Linked DNA regions of Homo sapiens: all the other regions are linked to region 2. The links are contacts of gene promoters, found by promoter capture Hi-C in blood cells and fetal thymus (Javierre and others, 2016). All regions are on one chromosome and are shown on one strand. Each heading gives the region's core, a stretch centred on a gene start or on the middle of the fragment in contact. The rest is flanking DNA. Distances are from core to core; before and after follow the strand shown. Region 1 holds the start of TLK1 (tousled like kinase 1). Region 2 holds the start of CYBRD1 (cytochrome b reductase 1). Region 3 overlaps TLK1 (tousled like kinase 1). Region 4 overlaps TLK1 (tousled like kinase 1).

Region 1 (2,700 bases), core at 25-2,524, 360 kb after region 2:
ATAGATACATTCACCATCTTCCTTGTAGAAGTGGTTTCAGGGAGGTATACACATCAAAACTTATCAAATTGTACACTTTATTTTTATTTTTTTGAGACAGAGTCTAGGAGTCTCGCTCTGTCGCCCAGGCTGGAGTGCAACGTTGCGATCTAGGCTTACCGCAACTTCTGCCTCCCGGGTTCAAGCGATTCTCCTGCCTCAGCCTCCCGAGTAGCTGGGACTTCAGGCGCGTGCCGCTACACCCGGCTAATTTTTGTATTTTAAGTAGAGATGGGGTTTCACCATGTTGGCCAGGCTGGTCTCAAACTCCTGACCTCGTGATCCGCCCACCTCGGCCTCCCAAAGTGCTGGGGTTACAGGCGTGAGCCACCGCACCTGGCCAATAATTGTACACTTTAAATATGTGCAGTTTATTTTGTCAATTATACCTCAATAAAGTTGTTTGTGAGATGTCCCTCTTAAGTTTGAAAAGCAGACAAGACTAAAAACTCACTGAAGTATCTAAAGCACAAGGCAACTACAATTACTTCTGGAGATAACTGACAATCAAGGTTCTTTTCTAGTATGATAGTTTATCTGAACAAAACATTACTATGAGAAATGCGAAGTCATAAAAATAAAAAATAGAAACGACATTTTTGTCCCCCTGGTAATCATGCCATTTCCTCTTGTCTGTGCAGTAGCGCTATATCATAATCTTTTTAGTGCTCTATTCAATTTGGTTTTCTAAAGAGAGAAATAACCTTGTTGTACTTTTCCTGAACTAGAGTGCTCTTTTATGTACAAGAAGCCCAATCCCTGGTGTGAGTATACTTGTGTGGGTCTGTAGAAAGCTACACTCTATCTATAAATTTTAGCAAATGCTGTTATTTATTTTGGGATTTTTGTAGTCGGGACTCAGCGGAGACACTAGAAACAAATTATAAGTTTCTAGAAACCATACCTTCTGCAAGATGAACGCTGTATAGTTTTCCTAAATATGTGATTCAGTAATCACATTTTTCATTTAGATTTTCCACTTACTGTTTTAAAACAAAGAATTGCTATACCATACAGTCTACAAAACTGGTAATTTTCAATTTCCTCATTAAAGATTCTTCACTCTTTTTTAGAAAACACGAGAAAGTTTTATTTCCCAACTCTCCCACTACCCATGTTTATTTTCATAGCTCTTTTATTCGGTCATTATTCCCATTCTGCAGACGGGGAGGCGCACATACGTTTTTCTGCACAGTACAGAGGGGCAAGAAAGAAGGAACTCTCAACTTTTCAGTTCCATTTTGAGAAACGATCACATTGAACTCCCGAGAAGCGGCAGCTGAGCGAGAGCAGCAGCATTTCTCCCCGTGTTGGGTGTGGGTCAGGAGAGAGGCGCGCTTCCGCGGGAGACAGGGGGAGTCAGGTGGCAGCGGCGCTGGAGCCCGAGCGGCGCGGCGGGGGCGCGCCTCCCTCCGGCCGGCGCGGGGACGCTGCCCCCGCGCACGCGAGTCCGGCAACCCCGGGCTCCCGCGCCGCGCGGCGATCCGCGGGTGCGGCAGGGGCGCCCCGGCGCTCTAGTCTCTTCCCTCGCGCGCTCGCTCCTTCCCCATGCCCCCACCCCCCAGCCCCTGGCAGGTCCCTCCCCCAAGCCTGCTCCCGCGGCCGCCGCTGCCGCCGCCGCCGCCGCCGCCGCTACCGGAGGCGCAGGAGCCTCGCGATAGTGTTTGCACAGGCGGCGCGTGACGCCGCCGCCGCCTGTAACTGATGCAGAGGTTACCCCACCGCCTCAGCCGCCACCCACAGCCCGCCGCCGCCGCCTCCCGGGCGACGCCGGGGGCCGACGCACTGCAGAGGTGCCGGCAGGTTCCGCCCGCGGAAGTGTCCTCGGCCGGCGCAGCCCGCGCTCCGCCCGCGCTCCGACCCCGGCCCGGCTGGCACCCCCTCGACGCCTCCGCCGCCGCGCTCCTTTCCTCCTCCTCTCCTCTGGCGCGCCCGCTCGCTCCCTCGCTTCTCCCCCTTTCCCTCCTCCCTGTCCCCTCTCCTTCCCTCACCTCTTTCCTCCCCACCTCCCCTCTTCTCGGTTTCCTCCCCCATCCCCTTGACTCTCCCCTCCCAGCCCTCGCTCTCTCGCTCGCCCTCAGCGCGGCCCCCGCCATGACGGAGGCGGGTGCCGGTGCCGTTGCCGCCGCTGCCGTCGCAGGGGGGGAGTCGGGTTCCCAGAAAGTAGCTTGATGAGTGTCCAAAGTAGCAGTGGAAGTTTGGAGGGGCCGCCATCTTGGTCCCAGCTCTCCACGTCTCCAACCCCGGGCTCGGCGGCGGCGGCCAGGTCCCTGCTGAATCACACGCCGCCATCCGGGAGGCCCAGGGAAGGTAAGCACCGCCGCGCCCGCGCCCGCTCGCGGGCCTCCTCTCCCGCGCCGCGGACCCCCGCGCCCCCCCCCCGCCCCCCCCGCCCCGGGGCTTCTCCGCCAGACCCTGGGGTGGGGGATGGTGGCGAGGTGGACGCGAGGCCGCCCGGCTCCCCGGCTCTGGGGAGGTAGTGCCCTGGCTGTGGATGGTGGTTCGCGGGTGGCGGAGGAGACGGACGAGGGGGTGCGCGCTGGTGGGGACGGGGCGAGGCGCATAGACTCGCCTGGGGTTCCTGGGAGCCAGTCCTGCGAGGGTGGGAAGCCTCCCCCCAGACGCGAGCCCCTTTCTGCTCCATTTGCCAGTACACTCAGT
Region 2 (2,768 bases), core at 174-2,673:
TATTTTCTGCGACATAACACCACTCCACCCCTTGCTGCCTTTCTCTAACTACTTTCTGAAGGCCGTGCCTTTGGGGAAGTGGTTACAAATAAATGGTGTTTGCGCCAAAAGCTAGAGGTTCCTCCAGCTACACGGCAAACCGAAGGAAGCAGTCAGGACATTGAGAGGCACTACACAATGACAACAAACATTGCCAGCGACTGCTGAGCCCCTCCCCCGCGCCAGCCTCAGCCCAGAGAATGCAGGCCCGGGGCTGGCTCGCCGCGGGCCAAACACGGACGCAGCTTGCGCCGGGGGCATCCCGAGCAGAGGCATCCCTCGGTGCCAGGCAGCCGCGGGCCCTCTCCGGGCATCTCCCACCCGGAGTGCTGGGCCAGTGCCCAATAGGAAGCCCCGCGGGGGAACTTTCGCCACTCTTCTGCCACATAAACAAGTCGGGCTCAAGACCGTCCAATGACTGGGCAGGGCGGCGAAACACACTTGGAAGTCCTGGCAGCTTCCCGGACTCGACTGAGTTTAACACTCTAGGAGGAGAGGAACCCAGGGCGGATGCTTCACTCGCCCCCCTTGGCCAGCCCCTTTACCCAGGGCCGAGGATGTTACAAATACGGGCAAATTCTCGCTCCGGCAATCTTTTCCCCGCTGCCTTCCCCTCCTCATCTGCAGCCTGGAAGCAAGTTCAGCAAAAGGCTGAGGCGAAAGTGTTTCCGCGCCCCCGATCGCGCAGGCTCGGTCCACAGGGGCGACTTTCCGGGGCGCGTGGGCTGCAGCGGCCCGACTGCGCGGCGCTCCGGCATCGCGCCCGGGCTCAAGTTTCTGGGTCTTGGAGGCCCCTCCAGTGCGTCCTAGCCAGTCGCCGCAAAGAGTTAACCAAGTGGGGCCGGCCCCGCTCCGCCGCCCCCAGCAGCGCGTCTCCACCGCGCACCCCCGGCCCCGCGCTCGCGGCGATCCTCCTGAACCGCAGCTCTGTCCCGCCCCAGAGCCAGCCAGCCTCCCTCCCGCCCAGCCGACTTGGCTTCCCGCGCGCTCCTCACCGCACTCCTCCGGGCCCCGCGATCCTCCAGCACTTCCTCAGCTGGAAGGGGCTTCACGGAGGACCCTCTGCCCCCGCCGTTCTCCCCGCTTTCCTCCCCGCACCCCCCCAGGAGGTGCCAGTACCGATGCCCTGGATGAAGACGAAGCCGGTGACCATGAGCACTGGGTGCCAGTTAAACTCTAGTGCGCTCCCATCCCAGCCAAGCCCCTCTCGGTAGTGGAGGACCCAGACGAGGGCGAAGATCACCGACAGGAAGCCGACGAGCAGTGCCGACCCCAGCAGCGCCAGGAAGCGCCAGTAGCCCTCCATGGCCATCAGCGCCCCATACTCCGCACCGCGGGGGCCACAAGAACTTGGAGAGGCGGCGGCAGCCCTCTGGGTAGTGGCCGGGCGGCGGGACCGGGGCGTCGACTTCTTGGGGCTGTCTCCGCCTGCGGGGAGGGACTTTCTGGGCTGCTGGCCCGGAATGTGGGGCCTCTTGGGGGTGGGGAGCTGGCCCCAACTCAGAAATGGGCCCCACCCCCGGGATCACGCGGCCGCCGAGGGCGCTCATTGCCTGGTGGCCTCACCCTCTCCCTCGTCCAGCATCCAAGCTCGCAGAGGGCTTCAGTAACAGACCTAGTTAGTTGCTCAAAGAGAAAATTCCGAGGATTTTATACTCACCACTTGCTTTTAACACTTCCCGTGTCTCGTCCTTATTTGTGGGGAGGTTGAGTAGGGCAGTGGTGCGCCCTCTTGGTTAAGAGAAGAGAGGGATCCGTTGGGTAGGGTTATGTGTGTGCTTTTAACTACTAACGAAGCCTCCTTAGCCACAGTGCTGGAGAATTGGCTGTCTCTGACATCAAAGGGTGTTAAGGAGGAACCTGTAAGGTGGTGTAAACTAAAAATAAAATCCTAAGCCCCTCACTGACTGAATGGACCTCCTTGGCCAAGCAGACCCCAGAAAAACCTTAAAGCTGAGTTTCTAGCTACAGCCGGAAGGGAAGTCTACCCCCTCCATTTTGGAATTTAGACTCAACAGCTGACTAGCATTAATGTTTAAAATAGAAATCATAAGGCGGACAGAACAGACTCTTTGTAGCAATAAGACATCAAATTATAAAAAGGACCTAAGTCACACACTCCTACACTTAAGAAATAAACTATGGTCTAACTGCCACAAAGGTTTTCTTTTCCTCTAGAGGCTAAACAAGCACTGGCTTGAGATAAGCAATATTAAAACAATTACAACTTAATCAGTTCACAGATGCTGACCAGCTGAACCCCTGTTGCACCAGCCAGAACTACAGCTTTCACTGGGCTGATTTCAGGAACTTTTTCATGATAAGAAGACCGACCATGGACCGGTTCTGGCCAGTGTACAGGGATTGTGCACTTGTATGCATTCACGTCCTGAAAAGACCTTTTGAAGTGTAGGTTTGAAGTAATACATTTAAATGTATTTGAAGTAATACAATTAAATGTTAAGTCTCCACCCCAAAGAGAACATGTTACATGCATGTTTGTTCAATATGCATGTGTAAGGACCACCTCCATTAATATTCATAGCTCCTCCTGTAACCTGTTACGTATGTATGTTTGGCCAAACTGTTCAGCATAAAGCTCCTACCCCAACCCCTCTGCCTTCCAAGTGCCTGTCTCTGGTCTTAGGCCAGAGGCTATGTTTATCAGCCTATGGAATGGCCTCCTTGCAGGCTATAACCTTTTATAAGAAATAAAGTCTCCTCTTTTT
Region 3 (2,884 bases), core at 283-2,782, 440 kb after region 2:
TTTCCAGAGTGAAGTTGGCCTCCAGCATTTATGATGACAAGTCAACTGTTACTTTTATCCTTTTTTGTTCTCATGTGTACTTTCTCCAGCTGCTTTCAAGATTGTTTTCTTTATCTTTGGTTTTTCAGCAGTTTGACTATGATGTGCGTAGGTGTGGTTTTCTTTGTAGTTATCCTGCTTGGGAGATTGAGTGAACTTCAATCTGTAAATTAATGTCTTTGCCAAATTTTGGGATTTTTCTGGCTGTCATTTTTTCAAATATTTTTTTCTGCATATTTTTCTCATTTTATGACCCCAGTTACATGTATCTTAGACTGCTTCATGGTGTCCAACAGACACTATTTTTCAATATTTTTTTCTCTGTTCTTTAGTTTGAGTAATTTCTCTTGACCTATCTTCAGTACTCTTTTTCCATTCTTCTGTTAAGCCCATTCAGTAAGTTTTCTATTTTAGAGAGTGAAATTTTCAGTTGTAGAATTTACGTTCAGCTCTTTTTACGGTTTTTATTTGTCTGCTGAAATTTCCAATCTTGTCGTTTGAGCTACTTATATTAGCTGCTTTATGTTATTTATTTGCTGATTCCAAATCTGTGTTACTTCATGATTAGTATCTATTGATTGTCTTTCCTCTTGAGTATGGGTCACTTTTTCTTGTTTCTTCATATGATTACAAATTTTTATTGTATCCTCCACGCTGTGAATGACACATTACAGTGACTTTGGAGACTGTTTTTTGTTTGTTTTTCTTTGTTTTAGGAGGCAGTTAACTTGGCTAGACTGAAATTTAAGCTATGTCTCCCTGCAGAGGGCAGCACTGACATCCCTGCTAGTTGTTTTAGTCTTATCTAGGCTGCTTATCGTCTGCTCCGTTTTTGCATAGATCACTGACCAGCCAAAGAAGTAGGCAGAGTTAATATGCAGAATTTGGGACTCTCCCTTTGTGGATCTTTATTTTCCAGCGTATCCCTCCTTACTTTGCAGCCTCTTTGGAAGCTTGAAACTCTTGTTTTTCAAGCCAGTAAGACTAAAGATTTTGATCTGGGTTTCAACTGCTGTTTGTGCAGCTCTGATCTCCGGGACCTTCCCCTCAGCAAAAGCTGTAAAAACAGGAAACCTACCCAGATCTATTCCCTTCTTCTCCTCTTCTTTTTTTTTCTGTTTTTTTTTTTTGTTTGTTTTTTTTGAGACGGAGTCTTGCTCTGTTGCCCAGGCTGGCATATAGTGGTGCGATCTCTGCTCACTTTAACCTCTGTCTCCCAGATTCAAGCATTTCTCCTGCCTCAGACTCTCTAGTAGCTGGGATTACAGGCATGCGCCATGACGCCTGGCTGTTTTTTGTATTTTTAGTAGAGACGGGGTTTCACTATGTTGGCCAGGCTGGTTTTGAACTTGTGACCTCAAGAAGTCTGCCTGTCTAGGCCTCCCAAAGTGCTGGGATTACAGGCGCGAGCCACTGCACCCAGCCTCTGTTCCCTTCTTCTAAGTGTTGTCTTGTACTTAGATTCTGCCTACTTTTGGTTCAGGTAGTGGCTTTTTTAAATCCTTTTTTTCCAGGATTTATATATAGTTATCTGTAGAAAATAAGGTATTCTGTTTTTACTGGTGGTGGAATCTTATTCATCTACCTACCTACTTATATTTTTATTGTTTGTTTTAAAAGATAAAAATATTTCATGAATTTTTATTGATATTTCCTATTCAAACTCAGGATTATAAGGTTTTTTTCATATGCATCTTTATACTGTGAATTATGAAATTCGAAGATACGAAGCAGAGGATAGAATTGGATATCCCTTAATTATTTTACTTTATTCTGTATTTCACACACATAGCTGTCTCAAAATAACATTAGCACAGTGAACAAAGTGGGTACTGAAAACAATTATTTTGTGTATGCTTTCCATCCCCTAGTTTTAAAAATACTGTACTATTAACTTTGCATGCATTTAGTCATTAAATATTATATCCTCTCCCTTGTCATTATCATTTAATCTTGATCAACAATAAGTCATATTATTGCTTGCCTTCAGTTCTTAGACTGGTAAACTATTCATTTTGGTTGTCTTAAGCTTGTTCTGTAGTAGATTCTTTAGGAAGGGCTCATGGGAGCAGGGTTCCCTAATTGCTTGCATTTTTGGTAACCGTTTATCTATGCTTTCCATGTGTTTAAAATGGATTTTACTGAATATAAAACACTTTGCTTTTATTTTCTTTCCTTGAATAGCTTATGTCACTCCATTTTTGTCTGGCATAAAGTGTTTGCCTTTGATGTTCGCTTTCTGGGTTGTTATTCCTAGGTGTGCATGGTGCTCTGTCAGTAGTTTCAATTTTTTTAATTGAACATTTAAAAAACAACAACTGACAACAAGAGACTGACAACTGAAAATGTCAGAGACATTTTTTTTTCTTTTTTTTTTTGAGATGGAGTTTTGTTCTTGTTGCCCAGGCTGGAGTGCAATGGTGTGATCTTGGCTCGCTGCAACCTCTGCCTCCCAGATTCAAGTGATTCTCCTGCCTCAGCCTCCCAAGTATCTGGGAATTACAGGTGTGCACCATCACGCCTGGCTAATTTTGTATTTTTAGTAGAGACAGGGTTTCACCATGTTGGTCAGGCTGGTCTCGAACTCCTGACCTCAGGTGATCTGCCCGCCTCCGCCTCCCAAAGTGCTGGGATTACAGGCATGAGCCACTGTGCCCAGCCATCAGAGACATTTTCTTGAATTACAGTTTTTACTATTTTCTGGCTTTAGTAGTTTTTAGGGTCTTCTGTTATCTGTATATTGATCTTTGTTGCTTCATCATCAGCTGTAGCTTACTCTCAAATACTTTTCATCTCTTCATTTCTTTTGATTTCAAAAATGTCCCTGTTTTTTGCCTTCTGGTTA
Region 4 (2,875 bases), core at 277-2,776, 500 kb after region 2:
TTCCTACCATTTATAGGGAATAGAAAATTATTATATATAATTTGCATTAGTATCCTTTAATATGCTATATCTGTCTATGCCAACTGCCCAGAAAGCTTCAACGTAAACTACTTGAACAGTGAATTAAAAAGTGATTTATTTTGGTTTTGTTATTTAAGTAGTTCTATTCTGTTCTATTGTAATTATTGACTACTTTTCCTGCGCTTTGAGACTTAGTTGACAACTTAAGTCTATTCTCTATAATAATAGATGGAGCTATATAACTATCATAATAGTTCTATAATAGTGATAGAACCATATAAAGGAACTATGGAAGCGAAAAGGGAATTTTTAGTACAGGATGAGTCGTAAGTATCTGTGTGCCCACTTAAACTGTTTTGATAATGAGTTCGTAAGGGCCTATGCTTTATGTCTCATATAAAGATTTACCAGTTATTTTCTAACCAGCCTGTGGTGATAAAGGAATACTTATTTACTTAGTTATAGTGATTCCAAGGTGTACTTGAGAGTTTTACTGAAGGGTTATTATCTTCACGTGTAATACCAAATTTCAGATTACTCTTTCTAAATGATGACATTTTACATATGCACCTTATTTTATGAAAATCTGTTATAAAATCTGAAATTGTAGAGCAGTTAAATTAGGAATTGGCTATTTGTATTACAAAAAGTACACTTTGAAAAGGCTTCAAAGGAGGGTTTGTTTTTGTTTTTGGTTGGTTGGTTTTAAAGCTTTCCTGGTACTTTGAAAATACTGGTTTCTGTGAAAAACACTTTTATAAAGTAAGGTATACTTAGTGTCCAAATATTATATAGACATTTGTAAAATGTTGTAGAACACTAAACCTTCTAACCTTCGTATTTTCCTCTTTCCCAGTGTTTGACTTCTATATTTTTCGTATTTACTTACTCTTTCCAATAATTATCCCTTCCATAATCTTTTTCCTGCTTTTTTTCCTAGCTTTTATCAAATTTACTGAGCAGTCTTAGATTTCTAACTTTATCTTCTTTTTAACTAATTTACAACATAACTTTTCTTTTCTTTGACCTTCATCATGGAATATTTTGGGGAAATGGATTAACAGTAATGCTGAAACATACTCTCATGTCATGAATACCCATGTTTTCTTCTGAGAGACTATTTTGGGTGAGAAGAATGAGTGTATTATAAAGAAAGTGGCCAGTAGTACATACAGGGAACAAAATTAAGCAAGTAATGTCACCTTAGAGCATAAATAGCAGTTGCCTGCTTAGAACCGAGTATTAATTTTTGAGTTATACAGTTAAAAAATAATAAGCAATAAGTTACATGTATAAAAATAAGTTATTTGGCATTCTGAAGCACAGTTGGAAAATAGGTCATTCTGTTTTCTAAAAAAGATTAAACAGATTTTTAAAACACAGGACAGGCTTGAGTCAAAAGAAAAGATGTTATCACTTCTGTCTTATCAGCTCCCTATGCTCCTGGGTTTATTAAGCAGACATGAACCCCGACTTGTAAATATACAGCTTCTACCATAGGCTGGATCTGAATATTTGACGCCCCTTGTATCCTGCACAGGAAATATAACCAGTCAGTTTACGGTTTAGATTTGGAGCCTGGCATACTCTTGCATTAGCATGGGTGACTCTCTTGCCCTTTCTCCCTTCAATAAATTCTTAACATTAAGCAGAACTAATTATTAGACTAACTTTCTTAGCACTGAAGGACCAAAGTTCATTGAGGAAGCCCATGGCATATGGACATAGGAGAATAGAAAGACCTGTTTACTTTTTCTTGAAGTGGATAATTTATGACATGCTTTGTGTTTCATAATGATAATCACTATAATTGAAAAGCTAAACTAAAATATGAAAAAGTATATTTACCTTTGAATAAATCATGAAGTTTAGTTCATATTTTATGCTGTTCTTCAGGGTTAGAAAAATAATAAATCCAAAGATAGCCTTACTCTATTATCCAATGTGTGATAGAGTAAGGAATGAGAGTCAGGCAGAAACCTCCAAAAGTAAATACATGGCTAAAATAAATAGGTGTTTCTAGTTACTACCAAAAAGTAAATGTAAACTTACTTATGGACTTATTAGTTTTCTCTTCTGAGATTAGGAAAATCACAGCAGAGCGTCACTTTTTTTCCTCTCAACTGTATCAAGAATTCTTTTATCTAATATTTATTGTTATAGTTGTTCCCAAGTTTAAGCAGTCGTTGCTCACCCATTTATTAAGTGACTTATTGCCATACTCTGCCTGACACAGGCATAATTCAAATTCCCATTTTAACGGAATTACATATTACTTTTTATAGACTTTGAAGCTTTCACCATTTTTGAGTGAACATTAATTACACCTTTTTGAAAGCCCAGATCTATATATACTTCCTCTGGAGTAATACCACCAGTAAGTGACAAAGCCAAAACTTGAACCATTCCCACTCCTATTTCAATGACTGTACCCATGTAGTTAATTCCTAGAATTATTTTGTTGTAGATTAATAGTAAGTTGATTCTTTGTATTCAGAAAAATTAATTCACTTGTGGCTTTCCTTGCATCTCTATTAAGTACTGGACTGTTTGCTTTTCCTTAAGTTTTCTTTTGGTGTGTGGCGGGATGAACGTGCTATTTCATTTTCATTACAGATAAAGGAGAACAGTTTTAAGTTAATTATTTTTCATACACATTCTTTTTCATTCTCTTTCACATACTTTCTTCCTTGGGCATTATGTTAGTGACTGTTGAATCAACTACAATATTTCTTTATTATTAACTAATATATTGATTTTCACTCGATTTATTTTTAAAGGTCAACAAAGACCTTTTTAAAAAGCACATTTTTAAATAAAAACTCAAATAATTTTAAAATATATCTTAAGGAAT

What was found. The method cuts DNA at HindIII sites, captures the fragments that hold promoters and counts their contacts. A CHiCAGO score of 5 or more calls a contact.
Region 1: a contact is called between a fragment that was not itself captured here and the fragment with the promoter of CYBRD1 in region 2, in 1 of 17 cell types (erythroblasts). The highest score is 8.6, in erythroblasts.
Region 3: a contact is called between a fragment that was not itself captured here and the fragment with the promoter of CYBRD1 in region 2, in 1 of 17 cell types (erythroblasts). The highest score is 5.5, in erythroblasts.
Region 4: a fragment that was not itself captured here is called in contact with the fragment with the promoter of CYBRD1 in region 2 in 1 of 17 cell types (M1 macrophages); the score reaches 5.6 in M1 macrophages.

Annotation. Positions count from the first base shown.
Region 1 is chr2:171,159,939-171,162,638 of GRCh38, reverse strand. It overlaps TLK1 (tousled like kinase 1), which reads left to right and starts at 1,746. Exons shown (of 21, transcript NM_012290.5): 1 at 1,746-2,349. The coding sequence starts at 2,211. RefSeq lists silencers at 1,156-1,215, 1,346-2,065, 2,336-2,575 and an enhancer at 1,930-2,574. The HindIII fragment of the contact is 4,171 bases long and covers 1-2,700 here.
Region 2 is chr2:171,521,129-171,523,896 of GRCh38, reverse strand. CYBRD1 (cytochrome b reductase 1) reads right to left here and starts at 1,423. Exons shown (of 4, transcript NM_024843.4): 1 at 1,159-1,423. The coding sequence starts at 1,351. RefSeq lists silencers at 785-854, 1,005-1,114 and an enhancer at 1,225-1,334. The HindIII fragment of the contact is 3,994 bases long and covers 1-2,768 here.
Region 3 is chr2:171,084,924-171,087,807 of GRCh38, reverse strand. The region is part of intron 2 of TLK1 (tousled like kinase 1); the gene reads left to right. Among named protein-coding and RNA genes, the nearest start is that of TLK1, 75 kb to the left of the region's middle. The HindIII fragment of the contact is 1,076 bases long and covers 995-2,070 here.
Region 4 is chr2:171,024,224-171,027,098 of GRCh38, reverse strand. All of the region lies in intron 12 of TLK1 (tousled like kinase 1), which reads left to right. Among named protein-coding and RNA genes, the nearest start is that of GORASP2, 96 kb to the right of the region's middle. The HindIII fragment of the contact is 1,583 bases long and covers 735-2,317 here.